Linked DNA regions of Homo sapiens: all the other regions are linked to region 1. Evidence: promoter capture Hi-C in human tissues and cell types (Jung and others, 2019). All regions are on one chromosome and are shown on one strand. Each heading gives the region's core, a stretch centred on a gene start or on the middle of the fragment in contact. The rest is flanking DNA. Distances are from core to core; before and after follow the strand shown.

Region 1 (3,224 bases), core at 246-2,745:
ACAAGCTGCAGATGAATGGGAATTCAAATCTCAGCTAGATCACTCAGTGGTTATGGAACTTGGGCAAGGGAGTTAACTTCTTTGACTCAAGTTCCTTTTCTGGAGGCATGGCATTCGTTATATGTACTACATAATGTTATAGAAAAGTTAAAGAAAAATGTATGTAGAATTGACATGTATTAAATATTCAGTCACGGTAGTGGCAAATATTTATTTCCTAGATTTTTCCTTCTGGAATACCTTGAATACCTTCTACCTAGACATTTAACCTCTTCATTTCTAGCCATAGTTACAATCGCAGTAGATTAGCCAGGGAGGCCAAAGTTTTAGAATAAGGATGGCCATTTACAGATGAGTATGTATTCATACTGTATTCATACTAGAATCTGTATTTATTTTGAAATTACTGTAGTACTTGTGAATTAATAAGTTCATAAATATTTACTGAGTACCCATTATATATCAGAATGCTGTTCTAGATACTAAGAATACAGCAGTGAACAAGATAGCGTCCCTGCCCTCCACTAATTTACATTCTAATGTGTAAAAATACACCACAGATGTGCAAGAAATATGATGAAAAGCTCATCTATAAAATGATACCAAACCCCCTAACATCCCAAACTCAATTTTTTGGCCTTATAACTTAGCTGTTGTGGCAAGCTTGTTTTTTGCAGAGTCCAATAATAGTTACCCAGATTTTTTTTTGTTTCCCCGAGACGGAGTTTCGCTCTTGTTGCCCAGGCTTTGAGTGCAGTGGCGGGATCTCGGTTCACCACAACCTCCGCCTCCCGGGTTCAACCATTCTCCTGCCTTAGCCTCCCGAGTAGCTGGGATTACTGGCATGCACCACCACGCCCGGCTAATTTTGTATTTTTAGTAGAGACGGGGTTTTTTCATGTTGGTCAGGCTGGTCCCCCAACTCTCGACCTCAGGTGATCCGCCCTCCTCGGCCTCCCAAAGTGCTTGGATTACAGGCGTGAGCCACCGCGTCTGGCCAGTTACCCAGATTTTTAAAAGCTGGGACTTTAAGAAGCAATGTGAAGACAAGCTACACACACACCACACCACACACACACACACACACACACACACACACACAGACACACACACTTAATTCTTTTTTCTTCTAGAAAAATTGGGATCAATCAGACCTATAAGTCATTGTGTACAACAGGTAGATCTGAGCTTTATTTCTATTTAAATGACCTTAAGAAGTGTAGTTGCCTGGGAGTGAAAGTTGTTCAATGGTGGCATTTCAGCAGGAGCTCCCAGAATATTGAAGCTCTTCTCTTTGCAGCAACTGAGGTCTAAGTCCTACCGACGTTAGAGGGATAGACGAATTGACCTTTCCAGGTCCTCTGCTCGCCACCAGCCTACGGAGCGGCGCCACCCCCTCCTGGCGAGACCGGGCGCGGAAGACGCGGAGCGGAGGCCCTCCCTCAGGAGGGGCGCGGGCGTGGAGGGCGTGGGCAGGGGGCGGGGCGAGCCCCGCAGACTGAGTGCTCCGGGGAGCTGTCAGTGTCAGGCTCTGGGAGAGAGGAAGTGATCGCTCCCGGAGGAGCGCGAGCCGAGCGGCCGGCGCAGCGTGAGACAGCACATCCTGCCCGCGCCGGCCCCGCCACCTTCGGGAGCCGCCTGCACCAACGCTGCCGCCGCCCAGGAGCCGCCGCCGGCTCGGGGAGCCCAGTTCCGCCGCTGCCGAGCGCGTCCAGGTAAACTGGAGCGGGATGTCGCCGCTCCCCGGACGGCCGCCTCCGCACCTCTCCCCAACCCTCCCCACCCCGGTGTCGTCTGCGCTGGGAACCAGGCTGGAGCCGAGGCCCCTGCAGCCGCAGCCGGACCCTTGTCCTGGCCCCCTGCCCAGGCTCCTGCGTGCTCCGCTGAGCCCGAAGGCGGCCAAAGCCCCCCAGTGACACCCCCCTCTCGGCAGAGCCGAGAGACTAGGGCAGAGAAGGAAGGGTCGTGGTGTCACCACCTGGTCGCCCACCTTGTGGGCTGGGAAGGGCGTCCCAGTGCGCCCCGCCTCGGTCTTCCCCGGGGGAGCAGTGGGCGAGCGGCGCTGAAATCTGCACCCCTCTGGGCCACCGGCTGACTGCCCCTGGAGGAGGGGGAAAGCTGCAGAGGGAGGGGAAAGGATGCTGTTTGATTACATTTCGAGCTGTCTGCAAAGCTCTTAGATGCTGTCACTACCCTGCAAGTCGGAGGGAGCGAATTCACTTCCAGCAGGGCATTAATTAAACACTTCAAAGCGAGAAGATGCCAGTTTCTCTCTGCTGCGAAAAAGTGTGGCTGGGGGATGTTGTTTTGGTAAACACCTTCACGGCCGCCTGGCTCTCCTTCCCCCGCTCCCATTCGGAATCGCTCTGGCCTTATAAATCCGTGCGTCGTCATCATAAGGGCAGTGATCCTGGCAGCGCTGATGGGAACTGAGTGTGCGGGAGTCTCATGACTTGTACCTTGGCTAATAAGATTAAACAGAAGCCCAGGATCAGGACAGGAAATTACATAGGAGATCAGAGACTCAACAACATGCAGAAGATGGAATATATTCGCTATTCTGGCCTCTACTAATCCTAGGTAAGGGGCAGGAACAAGTAGCCAGCCATTTTCTTGCTTGGAATGCCTTTCAAGTGGGCATTGTAGACTTATTGTAGTTCAGAGTTGTGAAGAATTGCTTCCAAATATTCCAGATTAGCAAAAAGTATAGCTAACAGTAAGGCATAGGCAACTGCAGGTGACAACCCAACGCCTGATGTTAACACAGACATGGGTAACCAGTCTGTGTACATACTTTAATTGTGGAAATTATAGAGATATACGTTGATCAGTGTTAGTAAATTTGAAAAGGGAATATTCAGTGCAATTTGCAAGCTGAGGGTACTGGTGAGAATGTAATACTACCTCTAATTATTTAAAATGCCAAGTTTGTTCAAAAAGGTTTGGTGTGGAAAAAGGGGTCCTAACTCAGCTCTTTTGATCATATTTCTCAATAAAATAAAATCTGAAACACCTGCCACTGAGTTACCACATGTTCTCTTCATAAGAACTAACTCTCGAATATTTGTTTAGGTCTGAGGATCCAGTGCTCCAAGACCCATTCCTCTTAAAACCTCTAGCACCATCCTTGGGAAGTTTTTAGAATACAGTTGGGGGTCGAATGCAGGCTTTTCCAGCCTGTCAAGCTCTTAGCCCTGTTTCTGGCCCACAGCATCTCAGCATTT
Region 2 (3,170 bases), core at 512-3,011, 40 kb before region 1:
AAGGATATGTATGACGATTGTACCATTGAACTCTGGCTAAACTAACCAGAAAATGAATGTATTACAATGCTATTATGCAGCTCACAGGTTTGACAGGAAAGTTAAAGACCTTAGCTCAGATAATGGGCAGACTCCAGGGAGTATGGGAAGCAGACAGCATATCCACTGTTGTGCCACAGGAATATCTGTTAGAATCCCACTCCAGTGCCTGGTGCCATATTGACTCCGCCACCATGAACTATCTCTAACTTTCTCTGTGTTTTCAGGTTTCTTCTTCCACATTCAAAATCCCAGTTAAGGAGGAGAACATCTGGTGTCCTTTAAATTTTCATAGTGGGATTAAATTTCTGCTTCTCACAAACACTCATGTGCTGTGGCGTTTTGTTTTTATTTATTTATTATTTAAATTTTTAAATTTTTTTAGAGATGAGGGTCTCATTCTGTTGCCTAGGCTGGAGTGCAGTGGTGCAAACACAGCTCACTGCAGCCTTAAACTCCAGGGCTCAAGTGATCCCCTCACCTCAGCCTCCTGAGTAGCTGGCACCATAGGTACGTGCCACCATGCCGAGCTAATTATTTTCTATTTTTTGAGTTTCTCTTTGTTGCCTAGGCTGGTCTCAAACTCCAGGTTTAAGCAATCCTTCCACTTCAGCCTTCCAAAGTGCTGGGATTACAGGCATGAGCCACTGTGCCCGGTCTTGTTTGGTTTTAACAATATAAATGGGATCTGTTTGCTGGGCAACCAAAGATGACTGTCAAATGTCAATCCTGTCCGTGCCACTGGCTGCCCAATATCTGACATGCATTCTTCCTCCTCTAATTGCATGTCACTGAAAAAACTTATAAAATATTGAAGCTATTTATTATTTGTTTTTTAAAAACAGAATTTGTTTAGATATCTGTCAGAGTTTGGAGTTTTCTTTGTGGGGAAGGTTTTATATTAGTGATTTAGTTTCTTTAATATTTAGTTTGCATTATAGAAATTGTAAATATTTAACCATGTAGGTCTGTTTAGATATCTATTTCTCCTGTCCATTTTGTTAAGTCGTATTTAATAAAAGTATGGTCATATCTTCTATATGTTCATATGTATTGGCATAAAATTGTTTCTAATATGTTGATATAGTCTTATTTACTGTTATATTGCCTTGAAAATCTCCAGTGACGCCACCTTTTCCAGCTCTGATACTCTTATATTTGTGCCTTCTCCCTTTTATTGATTAGTCTTATTAGATGTTATCAATTTTCAACAAACCACCTTTTTTGTTGATTTTAGTTGTCAGAGACTCATTGTCTACTTCACTAATTTCTGCCCTTATTTTTCTTATTTCCTTTCTTGCGCATTGAGGTTGATTTTGCAGGTTTTTGTCATAACTTTTTGAGACTTCTGGTTTAGCTATACCAAGTAAAGAGCGTGGAGGTTGTCACTCCCATTCTTTTTTTTTTTTTTTTTTTTTGAGACGGAGTCTCGCTCTGTCGCCCAGGTCGGACTGCGGACTGCAGTGGCGCAATCTCGGCTCACTGCAAGCTCCGCTTCCCGGGTTCACGCCATTCTCCTGCCTCAGCCTCCCGAGTAGCTGGGACTACAGGCGCCCGCCACCGCGCCCGGCTAATTTTTTGTATTTTTAGTAGAGACGGGGTTTCACCTTGTTAGCCAGGATGGTCTCGATCTCCTGACCTCATGATCCACCCGCCTCGGCCTCCCAAAGTGCTGGGATTACAGGCGTGAGCCACCGCGCCCGGCCCCCCATTCTTAACTCAAGAAAAAAATCGGACACACTGGAAATCATTCACTTTTCCTGGACCCATCTAGAGTGAAGACCATGGGTGGCAAACTGCCACCCCAACATCTGGAGAGACAAGTGTATCTGGGGAGTCACAGCTGAGATCTGCTTAGGTGAAGCAGAGGCCGTTAAAGTCAGAAACACTTAAATGATAATTTTGACTCATTGCTAGAGGCTGAGTGTGGACTAGTGTAATAGTGAAAATCTCTTGGGGGCCAAAGTCTTAGGGGGTGTCCTACACTGTCATTGGTTTTACCTCCAGAACTTCATCAGGTTCTCATAGCAAAGATCCAGGAAAGATTCTCTTCGTTGTGAATTATCCTCACATGCTTCTCCATCACAAGATAGTTCTCTGCAGGGGAGGGAATTTGCCAGAGCCTCATCCCATCTAAGAAAAGGGCATTCTTCCTTCAGCCTTCTTGCCTTACCTAAGGGGGCTGGGCTTCAGGGAAATAAACTAGAACATCATAGCCAGAGAAGGAAGTAAGGAGCAGAGGGAAAAAAGAAGCCTTACCACTAGAGAAGTACTTGTGAAAGTCATAGCTTTGAGACATACATCCACTAAAAGACTGAGATTTAATCATAAGATTATAGAAGGCTTCCCCTCCCTACACGTTACCACCCTACCAACAGGGCTGAGGTAGAATAACAGCAGACGGCAATTGTTAGGAGCTACAAGACACAGACTTTCTGAGGAAGAGTACTTTGGGAAGCCCAAAGTGCAAAGGGAATACAAAAACAAGGAAACTAAAGGAACTCAAAGGCTCTGGCACCTATAGTTACAGCAAGCATTAAACATAGCTCAGCTCCTAGCCAGATGAACACAAATCCCAAATCCACACACTGAAGGTCAGTTTACTCCAGATCCTATAACCCAATACAACATGTCTAGCTTTCCAAAGAAAATTATAAGGCATGACAAAAGGCAAGAAAAAATCACAGTGGCAGTGACAGGCATTCATTAGAACCAGACTCAGCTATGACACAGATGTTAGAATTATCAGACTTGGGGTGGGGTGGGAACAAGGAATTAGTCAAAGGACACAAAATTTTAGTTAGATAGGAGGAATAAATTCAAGAGCTTTATTGTACAACATAGTGACTATAGTTAATAATATATTGCATTCTTGAAAAATGCTGAGAGTGGATGTAAAGTGTTCTCACCACAAAAATAATAACTATGTAACATAATGCATATATGTTAATTAGCTAGATTTAGTCATTTCACAATGTATATATAATTTAAAACATCATGTTGTATGTGGTAGATACATTCAACTTTGTCTGTCAATTTTAAAGCTTTTTTTAAAAGGAATTATCAGGGAATTGAAAATTACAATTAATTTATGTTCAAGAACTTAATATATTCAGGACACTAATTTAAAA
Region 3 (3,153 bases), core at 636-3,135, 61 kb before region 1:
TGTAAGAGTCTTCCAGTGTTTTATGCATTTTGTCCAGGATTTTAACATTCAGATAGTGGAAGAAATACAGTGAAATGTGTCTACTTCATCGTGATTGAACGGCTGAACCAAGATAAAAGCAAATCTTAACAGAATACAGATTTTTTAAAGACACATTACATACAACGATAAAAAATATAGAAATTACACCAGATGAATTATCAGAAATATGCAAGCCAGAAAACAATGGAGTGACATCATTAAAATGTTGAGAAAGAAACATACCTGTCAATTTAAAAATCCTAAGCCCAGCAAAAATCTCAAAAATGAATGAGAAATGATGACCTTTTATTTCAGCAAAACAAAAATTGAGGGAATTTATTAACAGCGGCACAGCATGATGAGAAATGATGAAGAAAATCGCCGGGCACGTGGCTCACACCTGCACTTTGGGAGGCCGAGGCGGGTGGATCACAAGGTCAAGAGATTGAGACCATCCTGGCCAACATGGTGAAATCCCGTCTCTACTAAAAATACAAAAATTAGCCAGGTGTGGTGGTGGGTGCCTGTAGTCCCAGCTACTCGGGAGGCTGAGGCAGGAGAATTGCTTGAACCCGGGAGGCAGAGGTTGCAGTGAGCTGAGATTGTGCCCCTGCACTGCAGCCTGATGACAGAGTAAGAATCCATCTAAAAAAAAATGATGAAGAAAATCTTCAGGCAGAAGGAATATGTTAGCTAGCAGAAAACTGGGTTTACACAAAGAAGTGAACAACTCCATTAATGTATAAAATAAGGATAAATATAAAAGATATCTTTAATTTTATTTTAATTGCTCTAAAAGATTGTTATTCATCTATAAACAAATATAGTAGCAATGCGAGTTTATAGGATATATAAAATAAAATAAAAATTTCTGGTTTCAACTCCAATATGTAGAGAACTTAGAAGTTACCACTACTCCCCTTACAAGAACAAAATAAGTGAATAAATTGAAAACCACTGATTTTTATTGAATCCATCAGAGAACCTCTTTGTAGGGCATACTGCCACACCAACATCTGGAGAGACAGGTGAATGCAGAGAATCACAGATGAGATGAATTTACCTAGAACAGGAACTACTTGAGCTGCAAACTGATAAGAACACTTATATGGTAACTTTGATGAATTGCTGAAGGCAGAATGTAGATTAGCATGAGAGTGATGGATTTTGGGGGGTGACAGAGTATTGGGGATCCTCCACATTTTCATAGGTTTTGTTTCCAGGAATCCCATCAGTTTCTCACAGTGATAAGCCAAGAAAGAGCTCTCACATTTCTAGAAGTGGGAGGGAAAATGTAACCATTTTGAGATATGCCCAGAGCATTCTCCATAACAAAGTCTTATTCACCAGGGGAAAAGACTTTATTAGAGCCTATTCAGCTTGGAGGAAATTACCCAACTCCAGTCCTCTCTAGCCCTCTTGTCTCATGTGAGGGAGGAAAATGGGTTATAGCCCAGAGACACAGGTTCATTAAAGACTGAAATTTAATCATAGGATTATAGAATGTGTTTCTTCCTTCCACACTTCACTACCACATCAATGGGATTCCACTATAACAGTGGATCACAGCTGAAGAAGCTTTAAATGGAAACCCAAAGACAACAATGGAAAAAGAACAACAACACAAAAAGGACTCTAAAGGAAATTGAAACCATGTACAGGAAACATTAAACATAGCCAACACCTAGCCAGATTAGCATAAACTCTCATAACAAAGGCCTTTTTACCTTAGTTCCTATTAATTGATACATCTTGTCTGGATTTTTTTTTAACTTGCAAGTAATGCTTAATGGCCAGAAACAAACATAATCTGAAGAAACAAAGTAAGCATAAGACCGGACTCAGATATGTCACAGAATTTAGAATTATCAGAGAATTTAATATCACTATGATTAATATATGAATGAATCTAATGGAAGAAAGACAAAATTTAAGAGTAAATAGATAATATAAGCAGAGACAGGTAATCTAAAAAAGAATCAAATGGAAATGCAATAAATAAATTTAAAAAACACTGCAACAGAAATACAGAATGCCTGTTATGAGCTCACCAGTAGACTGGATATGGCCAAGAAAAGAATCAGTGAACTTGAAGATATGCCAATACAACTTCCCAAGCAGAAAGGCAAAGAGAAAAAATAACAATAATTAAAAAAAAACCAGAACAACTCATCCAAGAAATGTGAGACAACTTCAAAAGGCATGATACATGCATAACTGGAATACCAGAAGGAAAAGAAAATAAGAACCAAGCAGAATAAATATTTGAAGTAATAATGACTGAGAATTTTCCAAAATTAGTGTCAGGCATCAAATCACAGATTCAGGAAGTTCAAAGAACACAAAACAGTATAAATACCAAAAATCTTTACCTAGGAATATCATGTTAAAACTACAGGAAACCAAAGACAAGGAGAAGATCTTGAAGAAAGCCAGAGAAGGAAAATACAACTTACCTAAAAAGAAACAATGATGAAAATTACATCAGACTTCCCATCAGAAACTATGCAAGCAAGAAGAAAGTGGAGTGAAATATTTAAAGTGTTGAAAGAAAAATCTTCACTAATATACCATTATATCTGGCAAAATTATCTTTCAAAAGTGAAAGAGAAATAAAAACATTCTCATACAAATAAAAACTGGGGAAATTAATCAACAGCAGACTTTCCCTGCAAGAAATGTTTTTAAAAAGTAGTTCAGAGAGAAGGAAAATGATATAGGAAAAAAACTTTAATCTACATGAAGAAAGAAAGAGCATTGAAGAAGAAATAAATGAATTGATCAAATAAATAGCTATTGTAAATAAATTAATCAAATAAATAACTGTTTAAACTGAAAATAGTAACAATTACTGTGTGACTATAGTATATGGATACATGAAATGAATGACAGCAATTTTTTAAGGGATGAATGGGAACAGAAAAAGAGGAAAATAAAAAAGAAACAAAGAACAAATGTAATGAACAGACAGTAGTTACAAACACAGTGGATATTAATACAACTATATAGCTCATCACTTTAAATGTGGTTTAAATAAACCAATTAAAAGTCAAAAATTGTTGGAGTGGACAAAACAAACAAACAAATAAGACCCAATCATACGTTCTCTAAAAGTTTCCCAATTTAAATACA
Region 4 (3,133 bases), core at 265-2,764, 40 kb after region 1:
ATACATAAAAATAAATACAGTATTCAGATCTTTTGTTTAGAATACTTTCTTCTGAAGTTAATTCCATAATTTACTTTTATATTAAAATAAATTATCATTTATTTCCATAGTTAGTTAAACTAAGAATATAAATTATCCCATGTAGAACAAAATGGCAAATGTTTATATCAATGTGAATAAGAAAAAGAACAATATATAATAAGCTTAAAAATTATTAAGTATTGCTGGATGTAATTTAATACACACAAAACTAAAACACTATTAAAAATCATTTTATACTCAATCTCAATTTGTAATAGGTAAAAATAGTATGTTCAACAATGCTATAATAAGCCCCAATAAGATTAGATTCTTTGGTTTAATTTCTTCATGTTGTGGAAGATGTAACCTAGGGGACGTTATATTTGACTGATGGACCTTCTTTTCTACTTAGGAGCTGATACACATTTTTTTCTACTTAGTTGACATCTGATATGAGTTAGACACATTGCAATCAATTATATTTGTGCCTCAAAATAGCCTTTGAAATTATGTTGCAATGTGAACACTGGTTAAATACAATAATAGTATGTCCTAGTCTCCCCTACCCTACATAAAGCCAGTAATTAAACTTTAAGAACAAAACAGATTAACATCTCTAAACCATGACCAACTTTTGAAGTATCCTTGCATTACTGCCAACGGACTCTGGCAAGGGCCCTGTTTTCATTTTTCAGCCATCTCTTCGACTTACCCTCTGAGCTTACTCAGAGGGTAAGTAATCAGTGAATTAATTGTGGGACCACATGAAAATTCCTAGCTTCTCGACAGATCTGCCATTGTGTTATAGGATTTGGGTAAAACAGTTAAGCCCTTTACCCTATTAAGTAAATAAAAGGAAATTGCACATGATTGAAACCAAATGGGAATCTACATTTACGTACTGAAATTTCTTTCTATCCATATGGCTTCTCTGGCATATGTGATATTGAGAACCCGTTGAATTGCCTGGCCTGGAGCCATCTTGGCTATTTGGTGCAGCTTCTATCTGAAGGACATTTGGCTTGTATCTGAAGGAAGGGGGAAAAAATTGCATTGGCTTTAGCTTTTTTCTTTTATTATGCCTGCTCTCAGATTTTCAGCTTGTGCCGACCTTGATCTTTGAACTTGTCTCCTGTCTTCAGAGTGGCAGCTTACTTCTGTGCACATGGCAGGGTCTTCTAGAGCTGCTGGAGGCAAGGCAAAACAAGTCCCAAAGACAGTAAACAGTACAATGGGATGCAACTATTAATTAAATGTAAAAATAAAGCAGCCTGGCATTTTTCTTTGTTTTGAAAGAGACTTTTTAATTACCAGTTTCAACATTTACCCTTTCTCTATCTGTCACTTAGGCTCTCATGGCAAACAGCTTATATTCCACAGAGTACATTTCTCTCTCAATGCAGACATACAACAGATTTTTCTGACTGTCCTTGACCATTTAAAATTATTCAGAATCACTTATTTAATAACCTTTTAAAGTTTTATAGACACCTTGTTTTATTTTTAATAGGTCACATCTATACTAACAAAATAATGTGAAGAATCAGAATTATCTGGATGGTTCATGTTAGAGAGATATTTGACTTGAATTATCTGGATAGCTATTTTGATGCTTCATTTTACTTTGTTAGGGTGGACATGGCCTCAGAATCCCTAGGTTAATTCTGTCTAAATCATTTCAAATTTTAATTTCCAAAATACAAAAAATTCACTGGACTTTTTTCCTTTTCTTTCCTTTTTTTTTTTTTTCTTTATCCCATCTCAATGTCTCCTGGCCATACAACCACTTTAATTTGGGCCCATTTGTTTTGATTTGTCTGACACTGCTCTTCACCAGTGCAGCCGCTGCATTTTTTAACATGGGATACCTGTTATTTTCATTATTTAGTCCCAACCCCTATGTCTCCCTCCTCGAAATCAGTGAGCACTCCCAGTGAAGCTGGAAGCCAAGACTCAGGCGATCTGGGGCCATTAACAAGGTAAGAATTGTCCCTTTAAAAGGCCATGATGGGTGTCAATTAAAAAAAAAAAAAAACAGCAACAACACCACTGTTAGAATACTGTGAAATGTGCATGTATCTGCATGTGTACTTGGACATCTTATGTTTAAATTTATGGTGGCTTGCTATTTTTAGTGGAATAGCAATGATCTTGAACACTAGAAATGATCAACATATATCATCCTTCTTTGAGTGGGCTAATTTAGCACCATGTGTCTTGCTTAACAAACACACACATATCCATTAGCTTAGGCTTAAAAAAGGCAGGGAGAAGCCTTTTCATTATTTAGTAGATAATTGAATATATATCCAGCTTCTTATTATCCTACTTTGGTTTTGGTTTCCATGAAAGTCTTTGTGAATAGAATATTGAGATGTTCTAATTCTAAATTTAATTTTTCAAGTGAGTTATTTGCTTAGTAAAGTTGACTAATTTGAAAACTCAGTCACCTAAGTATTTTTATTGTATTATTATTGGTAGTAGTAGTATCAGGATTGGCTGCTTCTGTTTAGTGAGTTCATTGCCAAATTTGTATTACACTATGTAGACTCACAGATTATGTAACTTCTGAAAGTAGATCTAGACATTCTGTAATTTAATCACTGAAGAGGTATCCAAAAGGTAAAGATGTAAAAAGAAGAAAGGAGAAGTTTCATAAATGTAGATGGAGTCATGGTAAATCTCCGAATCCAGCTGTCTTCACCAGTGTTCCCACATGCCGGGGTCCACAGGCAGGAATTTATGTGAGTATGGCAACTGCACCCAATTCTTAAAGGCCAGATGGCCCCCTCATAGCTCAAGCTGGTTGAGCTCACATGATATGATGGACCCAATTTTTCCGCATTTTCCAGTTTTTCTTGAGAAGCTACAAATTCAGATATTCAGGTGATAATCTCCTGAATGTTAAATGTTAATGACTTTTGTTCCAAGTAGTTATGGGCCAGATTTGGCCTGTGGCAATTTATGAACTCTAGCTTTGACTCTTAATTTAAAAAAATCATAAAATGCTTTAATCAAGTTTTAAATAAAAGAAGAAACAACCATCTACAGCACTGCTGTTCTAAGAAGTCAGCCTTTTGGCTTGTCTGTGTACCTTTCCAGTCCTTGTCTG

What was found. Contacts are between HindIII fragments. The study calls those that stand out against the background at their distance.
Region 2: a contact is called between a fragment that was not itself captured here and the fragment with the promoter of DYNC1I1 in region 1, in 1 of the 25 tissues and cell types used here (heart left ventricle).
Region 3: a contact is called between a fragment that was not itself captured here and the fragment with the promoter of DYNC1I1 in region 1, in 1 of the 25 tissues and cell types used here (adrenal gland).
Region 4: a fragment that was not itself captured here is called in contact with the fragment with the promoter of DYNC1I1 in region 1 in 3 of the 25 tissues and cell types used here (H1 embryonic stem cells, mesendoderm cells and thymus).

What each region holds. Positions count from the first base shown.
Region 1 is chr7:95,771,059-95,774,282 of GRCh38, forward strand. DYNC1I1 (dynein cytoplasmic 1 intermediate chain 1) reads left to right here and starts at 1,496. Exons shown (of 17, transcript NM_001135556.2): 1 at 1,496-1,715. The HindIII fragment of the contact is 6,379 bases long and covers 1-3,224 here.
Region 2 is chr7:95,730,920-95,734,089 of GRCh38, forward strand. No RefSeq gene overlaps it. Among named protein-coding and RNA genes, the nearest start is that of DYNC1I1, 40 kb to the right of the region's middle. The HindIII fragment of the contact is 4,831 bases long and covers 1-3,170 here.
Region 3 is chr7:95,709,508-95,712,660 of GRCh38, forward strand. All of the region lies in intron 2 of LOC105375409 (a long non-coding RNA gene), which reads left to right. Among named protein-coding and RNA genes, the nearest start is that of DYNC1I1, 61 kb to the right of the region's middle. The HindIII fragment of the contact is 4,908 bases long and covers 1-3,153 here.
Region 4 is chr7:95,811,338-95,814,470 of GRCh38, forward strand. DYNC1I1 (dynein cytoplasmic 1 intermediate chain 1) reads left to right here. Exons shown (of 17, transcript NM_001135556.2): 4 at 1,910-2,000. Among named protein-coding and RNA genes, the nearest start is that of DYNC1I1, 40 kb to the left of the region's middle. The HindIII fragment of the contact is 5,109 bases long and covers 1-3,133 here.